Regions from separate parts of the Homo sapiens genome. Here region 1 is linked to region 2. The links are contacts of gene promoters, found by promoter capture Hi-C in human tissues and cell types (Jung and others, 2019). All regions are on one chromosome and are shown on one strand. Each heading gives the region's core, a stretch centred on a gene start or on the middle of the fragment in contact. The rest is flanking DNA. Distances are from core to core; before and after follow the strand shown.

Region 1 (5,206 bases), core at 332-2,831, 270 kb after region 2:
GAGGGAGACAAACAGAGAGTAAAAGTGAATAAAATAAAAACAAAGGTAATGTAAGATCTATGCCAAGGAAGTGGTATAGTTAGTGGAGGTTGAAGTTAAAGTATACCAGGGGCCGGGCATTGTGGCTCACGCCTGTAATCCCAGCACTTTGAAAGGCTGAGATGGGAGGATTGCTTGAGCCTAGGAGTTTGAGACCAGCTTGGGCAACACAGTGAGAGCCCATCTCTAAAGAAATAATTTTTTTTTAATAAATAAAAAGAATTCCAGGGACTTGTAATGCTCTGAAGGCTTCCCTAAGGAGGTGGAATTGCTCCCCTAAATCCATGTCAAGGATTCCTCCTCTGTATCTTCAGGACTCAGTATTCATTCATTCAACACAGAACTGAGCTAGACTCAGGGGCTAGGAAGGAACCTGTCCTTATATAGCTCTCATGCTAGAAGGAAGATGCAGAAACTATAAATGTACTTGAGTGTTTATATATAAAATTGTACTGAATGCTATGAAGGAAAAAACGGACACGATCTAGACTGGGAGGTCAGAGGAGGCTTCCCTAAGGAAATAGCATTTGAACTGAGTTCTCAGCATGACTGAGAATTAAGTAGGCACCAGTGTTCCAGAAGGAAGGGGTGGTGAGTCTGTAAATCCTCAGGTGGAGGACATGTGGAGCCCAAGGGGTGGGCTGGGGGAAATGGTGGAAGATCAGCTTGCAGAGGTGGCCAGAAGCACGATCCTAGAGGTCTTAGAGGTTCAGTCATTCGCTCATCATGGATCTTGGAAGGCAATAGCCTGTTGACTTGTCTGTATGGGGGACCCTTAAGGCATAGCCAGTGTCTAGCACTTGGTAGGTTCTTAGTAGCATTGAATGGGTGATGTAAGCTTTAAAGGGGGAATGAGTTGGATGGTGTTTTTATTTTTTAAATTAAACCTCCCTCTCACCAGTACCATGGACATATTTGGGCACAGTTGTTGGTAAATGCTCAGCTCTGTGTATCACAGAGCCATGCAGAGTAATGGGCTTCAAATCAACGTCTTCATAAGGGCTTATTAATGTTGGCCCAAAATATGCCATATGTATAGAGGAGCAAAACACAATTTACACCATCCAAATAAAGGTCAGGATGCAGGTGAATGAGCCTACCATGGAATCTCAACTGATTCAGTTCTGAAATCTCCTAAACTTTTGTTGCGTTGGTTATAGAGTGCCGGCAGTGCACCTTAAGCAGTGCCTGCCTGAACTCCTGTTGCTTGTATAGTCCTAGTCATTTTGTGTTTTACTTTTCACCTTTGGTCCAGTAACGTCCATTTCAGCTTCTGATGTCACTTTCCCTTCAGCCTTTGGTTCTTTTACTATTTCAGGGAATATTTCATCTTGTTTTGGTGATAGTTAGAAGCAGTTGAAATTAACCTCACGATGTGTTGAGGATTCAGTTGCTAGTAATGGTAACCAACACATCGGCTCAAGCAAAACAGTATGGATTACAAGGCTGCAAGTGTTTCTCCAGGAATCCTAATCTCTGCTGGTTTTTTTTTTCCCCCTCTTTGCTTTGTTTTTGTCTCCCTACAGATTGGTTTTCTATTTCTTGGGCCAGTGGTAGAAAAAATGTGGTTCCTTCCCAGTTCCTCTGTAAAAGAGACCATTCCTTCTCGTTCAGTTCTGAACTCATGTTTCCAAGAGAAAGAAACTCTAGTTCTTTTAGGGGGTTGAGGGAAAGGATGGACAGAATAATTAGGCTCAAACATGGCCACTAGAGGATGTGTCACACTTGGGAGAAGTCAGTTTGTGAGAAGGGAGGGTGGATCATTTTAGTTATTGGCAGAAAATGGAACCCTCTTCAGGTAGTTCAGGAGACTTTTATGATGGGACTCTAGAGCAGTATGGGGGGGGTTTCAGGGAACCAATAAGAGATGTTGAGGAGCCCCAAGACAACTACTGGGAGTGGCTACTGCCCCTATTCCAAAGGGGCCAGGGGAGGAAACAGTATTACCACATTTCAGTGATAGCTGGAACTGTGGAGGAAGGGCTGCCCAACATAAGTCATAGTCTTCGATAGATGCAGGCACTATCAGAAATGTGGCCACTAGATTGGGGGTGAGGGGCACCCTCTGATCTGGTATCTTCCACTGGACAAACCCAACCAGAAGCCAGCAAAGGGAGTCTAGGTGATACAATTTGAGTCAACCTGGTGAACAGATCCCCTCTCCCAGGGGAGAACAGAGAATCAAAAAGGTGGATTAAATCGGTATTTTGATAAATAATTTGATTGGTTTCTGTTAGGTTCTCTTTCAGTCTTTGAAGGCTATATCCCATTCTTATTAGGTACATATTATAATTTTTATTTCATTGAATATTTACAACAGTTCTGAAGGTAAATGTTATCTCTATAGATGAGGAACTGAGCTCGGGCAGGTTGAGTCGCTTGTCAAGGTGACACAGTAATTGAGTGGTGGCACTGGGATTTAAATCCAGACCTGTCTGATTGCAAAGCCCATACTTGACTCTGAGGCCACCTTCCTGCTGCAGTGAAAGTCATTTCTTCCATTTCCTCAGTAGGGATCCAGAGATCAAGGCAGGAGAGAATCTTTGCTTCCTCTACCTCCTTTTCTTTCCCCCTTTCTCTAAAAGCTTGTGGGGAAACTGGAAGGGAAAGAGAAAGTTCTAATTGACACCTCCCACTCCCCAGTTTTTCTAGAGCTTAAATAGTATATGGCATATACTGCTGTATTGTTTTGGTTGCATTTTTCCCACATTGAGTATAAGTTCCTTTAGAACCCTATATTGCATTTCTTTGTATAGCTTTTGTCTTACTAGTATCATAAACGATTTACTCTGCCCATACCATGCAGAACTTGGAGCAGACTTCAGAATTTTTAGAATCTAGGATTTATCCTCTTTTCTGGCTTACTGGGCTAGATGTGTGTTTTCCTCATCCATGAGAAGCCATTGCTAACCTCCCTCTTAGCCCAGGGATTCTGAAGCCTTGAAGTGCATTTTACTCACCTACAAAATACAGATTCTGAGGCTTTACCCCAACATTCTGAATCAGACTCTCTGGGGCTGGGGCCTGAGAATGGACATTATCATAAAGTGTTGGGAAATTTGGGGGCAGCCACCAGACATTGGCCCATGGGTAAGCCACTGACCAGAGATAAAGAAATCTCTGCTCTCTCCTGCTGAAGTCATATGGTTTCCTGCCTCTTTTTGAATGAGGCTTTGGAGTCAGACTGAGCAGGCACCTTCACCATTTACAATAAGTGGTTTTACTTGCATAACTGAACCTGCTTCCCTTGTGTAAAATGGGGACTTATGCACCTGGAAGTAGAATGGGGTTATGAGGAATGATGAGATAAGAGATGTCAAGCACTTGGGCTGTGGTTAACACAGAAAAAATGCTGGCTCCCTTTCAAGTTTGTTTTTCCATCAGAAGTGTGACTTTGTCTTAAACCATCCACACTAGATCCCCAGCCTTCATAGTGACCTCATTAAAGATTCAGCCTGTGGCTCCTGAGAATTAAACCTCTTTTGATTTGAAGGAATCGGGATTTTTCAATTATCTCAAGAAAAGGGATAGGCCAGGTGCAGTGGCTCACACCTGTAATCCCAGCCCTTTGGGAGGCTGAGGTGGGAGGATCACCAGAGGCCAGGAGTTGGCATCCAGTCTGGGCAACATAGCAACACCCTATCTCTAAAAAAAATTAGGTGTGTGGTGGTGTGTGCCTGTAGGCCTAGCTGCTTGGGAGGCTGAGGCCAGAGGATCGCTTGAGCCCAGGAGTTGGAGATTTCACTCCAGCCTGGGTGACAGAGAGATACTCTGTCTCTTAAAAGAAAGAAAAAGAAAAAAGAGAAGGGGGATCTGTGGCAAGAGCTGGAAAGTCCCCAGACAGCTCTGAGGTACCGCCTCTCATGGGCTCCGTGGATTATCTCATGGCCTGTGTGGCTGTCTGTCTTTATCTCTAGTGACATCTCTGCTTTTCTCTGCCAAGATTTATCCCTTCTCTGCAGCCACTTGCTGTCCAGCTTCCCTTCTTTGTAGAATCTGCCTCTGCCCAATACCTTTACTTTCGTGTGGCCTCTCTGGGCTCCTCCATATCATGACCTGTCAGCTCCTCTTTAACTCCTTTCTTCTCTCAAGTGTTTCTCAGATCAGAGACCAGATTGCAATGAGAGAATCAGTTTGGTCTGGTAGTATTTCACGCCAAAAAGAGTTGGTCACCCTTTGGATTATATGCCTTTGGTTCAGGCACCTACCCCTGGTCCTGGCTGTTGGGGATGGATGGTGACTGTTATGTGGCCTTTACAGGGCTTTAGGCACAATAAAGCTTTCCCAGGTTCAGCCTACTGAGTGCTATGGCTATGACCTGGACATTAAACTGGCCCTCATAGGTTCAGACCTGGCCATGGCAATTGACGAACCCTACCACAGGGCTCTTGGAACCCTGTGAAAGCCATTTTATTGTATGTTCTTGGCTGTTGAAGGGAGTTGTAGCCCAGCTGATGGCTTCCATTTCTTTTCTGTGGATCTTGCTTTCATCATAAGCATTGTTTAGGGGTATAGCATGGAAGAGGGAGATCAGGGCCTCAGCCTGGTTTTCAACTATGAGATTGAGCAGTCAGTATTCGGTTGCTCAGTCTGGCCATGACAGAATTGGAGCCAGCCCTCAGGACTCTTGATTTTTAGCTCTCTGCCCTTTCTGTTTACAGACCCATGGCACAGAAAGCCTTATGCCCAGACACTGCAGGATGCAGAGTTATGGAGCCATATCCTTTCAGAGGAATGCCTGGCTACTCAACAGGGTTGGAAAGTCAAACAAGGATCAACACCTACTTTTGCCTGCTGTGTGATGGGCCCGAGCCTGCAAAGCTGGACCAAATGTGGCCCCTTTCCTAAGGGCGGGGGGCAGTCACCTTCTAGTAGGGGAAGGAATTTAGTCTCACTTCTCCTTTAGGAATCTGGAGTATTAGACAAGTCAAAGCAAGTTAATGAGGGGTTAACATAACCTCAGAGGACCACTTTGAGTCTAAAGTCCTTCCAGATGTGTCAGATTGGTAGCGCCAACTTGTCAGTTTCTATTAAGAAGTAATAGGACTGGGCTTCCTGGGTGTGAGGGAAAGTAGGTCTGTGCTTAAATGTCCTTCCACTCTGTCACAAACAGGAGATTGAAACTTAGGTGCCTCCATTCTTATCTGTAACCTCTCTCAGGGTTGTT
Region 2 (4,663 bases), core at 182-2,681:
ATAATTTAGAAGGAGTTTCTATTTCTCACAGGGAAGCAACATTCATCTCTGGAATGTACACTTTAGGTAATCTGGGGGAAGAAAGATAATTTTCCAGCAGTTTTAGCTCTCAAACAAGCAGTATACATCTATGTGGAGTAACTATTTCCTGTAACTTGTTGGAAGTTGATGGTGACCTAGTCATTCATCAAATACTGATTGAATGCCTAGTATGTCAGCCATGCTCTAGGTGCTAGGGATATAGTATGAATGAAACAGAGAAGGCCCCTGCCTTCATACAGCTTACATTCTACCAAGGGAGATAACAATTGGATAGAGTGAGCCAAAGAAACGGGAATATGCCAGCTACGTGGTACATCCTTTCAGATGTGCAGAGAGCTTGCTTTCTGGATTTAATCTATGGTATCCTCATTTTTCAGTTTATCAAAAATGCCAATAATCTAAATTTCACCTGTTTCTGATTAACGAATTCAACAAGTATTTATTGAATGCCTTCTCTACCAATCATTGTGCTAAACATTGAGATATAATGATAAATAATAGCTCCATATAGCTGATTAGAGTTGTATAAAAATGAACTGATTGGGTCTTTCACAGTTGTCCTTGGGTGGGATGCTACTTGTGTGTATCTTCCTAACAATACCTACGAAAGAAATACAAGTGTATGCATTTAGGGGGGCACTGAATAGAAGGCTAGCTAGAGCTAGAATAACTAATAGTGATATGTGAGTGTAAAGACCCATAAGGGCAACAGTCTAGGTGGTCAAGTGAGAATTGGCATTGGGATTTGAAGAACCAGGATAAATTGGATAGCTGAGGTTAGGGAGAGCAGGTAGAAGGAAGGGAGAGTATTCCAAAGGGAAAATCCTGGGAAAAAGATCTAGAGTCAGGAAGAGGCAAGGGATTTCAGGGGGCCAATGGGAATTCAGTAACTTTAGAGCAGAATGTATATGATAGCCAAATAAGAGATGTTGATATTGAGGTCAGTTTGTGTGGGCCTAGATTGGGAGTTTGTCCTTTATTCTAACATAACAGGGGATCACTCAAGGTTCTTAATAGAGACTATTTTAAGCAGGTAGAATATACTAGTTTCTTGTTGAGATGGCCCATTCCGGCTCCTACCCAGCATCCTTTCCATCCCTAACGTCTCCCTCTACAGTTTTCCTGAGGGTTGAGGTAGCCACTGTGTTTCAGGCCAAGATAGTTGTTAATGGGATATCAGGAACGCGACTGGGCTTGACGGGAAGCAAGGCTGGAGTTACAGGCTGGGCTTGGCGGGAAACAAAGCTGGAGTTACAGGCTGGGTTTGGAGGGAATGCCTTCTTCTAGGGTCCCATAGAGATGTTCCTCCCGCTTCCTAGAGAATCAGAGAATGGATGCGCGAGCTCGCTGCTGACGCACTACCGGCCGCGCCACCATTCTTCCGGTTTCAGAAGTTAAGGCTGGTGTCCTGGCCCCAGTCCACCTCTGGGAGCGCCTGCGCCGCTCCGCGGAGAGTCCGTGGATCTCACAGTGAGCGAGTTGGGACCCAGGGAGGGGAAAAGAGAGGACCCCGGCGAGCCATTGCTGGGGCGGCGGGCTGGAGGGTTATCTGGGAAGTCAGCCCCGGCCTCGGTCCTCTCCACGTTGCTGCCTACGCGTGCTGCCCGGACGTAGGGCACTCCTAGCGGCTCGGCCCGCCCAGCCTGCAGCCTCAGCACTGCAGACTCCAAGGCCCAGCACAGTGCCCGGCACAGAGGAGATGCCTAGGAAAATGGCGGAGTGAATGAATGAATGAGTGAATGAGTGATGGATAGATGATCAAGACAGACCTAGGACCCATGTCAGGAAACGAGGTCCTGGGGATCAGATACCAGTTTCTTCCCCCGGCTGATCCTGTAGCTCCGAAACTTGTTTAGAGCCTGTTTTTATAGGAGACGGCAAATAGCGTAAAGTGCACTCGTTGGGAGTCTTGAGACCTGAGTTACAATTCTGGAGGGTACAGAAATCTCTAAAGTACTGTCTAGAAGTCTGTTCCTTGCTTCTTCACAAAGCTCAGTTGACAGCTTGTATGTGATAGCATGTATGCAAACCTTAATGCCTCCCAATGAAGGATTACTATCCATTATATGCCAAACATTACCCCGAATTTAGTGGCTAGGCTACAAAAGAGTGACATCGGAGACTGCCACATGTAAAGATGCTTCCAGTCTTGTTTAGGACGATAAGGGCATAAGCAGATTTTGGTGGTAATATTTTAAACTACATTTATTTAGCACTTACTGTATACCAGGCACTATTTGAAGCATTTGTGCTAATTGATTTAATCTTCACAACAGCGTATTGCGTGTACAGTTTTGTTTTTTGGTTTTTGGTTTGTTTTTTTTTTTGAGACGGGATTTCACTCTTGTTGCCCAGGCTGGAGTGCAACGGGGTGATCTGGGCTCACCACAACCTCTGCCTCCCGGGTTCAAGCGATTCTCCTGCCTCAGCCTCCCGAGTAGCTGGGATTACAGGCATGCGCCACCACACCTGGCTAATTTTGTATTTTTAGTAGAAACGGGGTTTCACAGTGTTGGTCAGGCTGGTCGCGAACTCCCAACCTCAAGTGATCCACCCGCCTTGGCCTCCCAAAGTTCTGGGATTATAGGCGTGAAACACCGCGCCAGGCCTATGTGTAGTTTTTAAGTGAGGGAACTGAGGTACAGAGAGAACAGAAAACTTGTCCCAGATCACATTGCTAAGTGACCCAAGGCTGCATAAGAGATAAAGTGTACTGCCACAGCTTGGGTGAGTGCACTGTTTGGTGCCAAAATGCAGACCAAGAAGGGCTTCAGAGAGGAGTACATTTCAATGTGGTCTCGTTGGAGGGATTGTTAAAAATTCTTGAAAAACTTCATCTAGCTTGCTTAGATTCTTTTAGCTAATTATTGAGGGGTAAGGAGGTGGCATCTGGGGAAAAGCTTACAAGGTAGAGGGAGGAAGCCAGCTCTCTAATAGGTTAGCAGGATAGGGCTATTAAGAGCCTGTTTCCTTTTTACCTTTCACCATAATACTCAGCTTTCCCCAGATCTGCAGAGGGATCTTTTTAGCATCTTAAAATCACTAACAGCCAGATTATTCCACAATAGGCATTTGTAGAAGCACCTGTACATTACTTTCTGGGCAACTTATAGACCTAGGAGTCAGCAAATATGGACCAAATTTGGTCTGCCACTTTTTTTGGTAAAACTGTTTTATTAAAACACAGGCAAGCTCATTCAGTACATATTGTCTGTTTCTGTTTTCAGACTACAAAGGCAAAGTTGAATAGTTGAGACAGAGACTATATTTTCCATTTAACCCATTAAACCTAAAAAAAATTGCTTTCTGGCCTGTTACAGAAAATGTTTGCTGACCCTTGACATTGACAAACTGCTGACAGCTCAGATGATCCATGATTGGAAGGATGTGGTCATCACCAAGATGTCTTTCTTTCTCCGTAGGTTTTAGTATCAACCATAATAGCATCTAACCCCTGTTGAGTGCCTGCCATCGAGTAGATATCTTTTTGAATGCTTTATGTGAATTAACTCATCAAGGATTCACAGATTATCAGAGCTGGAATGACCCGTAAATATTGTCTAATTTGTCACCCTTTTCAGATAAATAGCCTGTCATGTAGGCCCACTCACATGGGCTATTGGCAGAGCAAACTTTCCTGAGTCCCAATCCAGTCTACTATCATCTTGTGAATGGGAGGCCAATACCATAGCCATTGGATCTGGCATTTTGTTTTTGTTTTTGTTTCTGGGTTTTTAAAAAGTAACTTTTTCTACCTATAAAAGTAATATATGTTTATTGAAGGAGAAGTAAAAATATAGAAGAGTATAAAGGACAAACTAAAGTGACCCATTAACTGACCTAGAGATAAATGTGTTAATATTTTGGTGGGTTTTCTTTATGTCTTTTTTAAATGTGTGTGTTTTATCTGTTTATTAACAATAGTTTCTGTTTATTGAGTGCTTAATGCCAGTATATGTGTGCATATTTCTTGTTTTTTAGTGTTTTGTATCTTCCTGTTTTAACATATTATATTTTCTCATGAATATTCTTTGAAATTATGATTTTTGATACCTTCATAAGCTATCTTTGCTAGTCTATCAATGTTTATTTGCCTGTTTATTTAACAATTGTAGTAATAGTGTGATCTTTGTACATAAATCTCTGGCCATCTCTGATTATGCTTTTTCACTTTTTCTTTGATTACAGAAGTTAGTTATTCCTATGGGAAAATTTTCAAACATTACAAAAAGATAGGCCTTAAGGCAAAAGTTTACCATAATTTTATTCTTCAGATATGATCACAATAAATAATTTGTTATATATTCTTATAGATTTGTTTTTTTTTTAAAGTGGAGCAAAATATAGATAATAGAGGACATTTGAGGAAATTATTCACAATTCATTATTTTACCACAGTGATGATTATTTTTCCTTCTTGATCTTATTCAGATGTATTTTTAATTTTTAATTTTTGAGAGGGATCTCACTCTGTCACCCAGGTTGGAATGCAATGGTGCTATCACAGCTCACTGCGACCTCTACCTCCCATGTTCAAGTGATCCTTCCACCTCAGCCTCCTGAGTAGCTGAAACCACAAGCACGACACATGTATATTTTAACAAACATATATTTTACATTA

What was found. The method cuts DNA at HindIII sites, captures the fragments that hold promoters and counts their contacts. A contact is called where the count stands out against the background at its distance.
Region 1: a contact is called between a fragment that was not itself captured here and the fragment with the promoter of ZNF502 in region 2, in 1 of the 25 tissues and cell types used here (heart left ventricle).

What each region holds. Positions count from the first base shown.
Region 1 is chr3:44,978,067-44,983,272 of GRCh38, forward strand. All of the region lies in intron 1 of EXOSC7 (exosome component 7), which reads left to right. Among named protein-coding and RNA genes, the nearest start is that of EXOSC7, 4.4 kb to the left of the region's middle. The HindIII fragment of the contact is 3,779 bases long and covers 1-3,471 here.
Region 2 is chr3:44,711,229-44,715,891 of GRCh38, forward strand. It overlaps ZNF502 (zinc finger protein 502), which reads left to right and starts at 1,432. Exons shown (of 3, transcript NM_001134442.3): 1 at 1,432-1,512. LOC105377056 (a long non-coding RNA gene) reads right to left here. Exons shown (of 3, transcript XR_940788.4): 3 at 4,289-4,609. The HindIII fragment of the contact is 6,909 bases long and covers 1-4,348 here.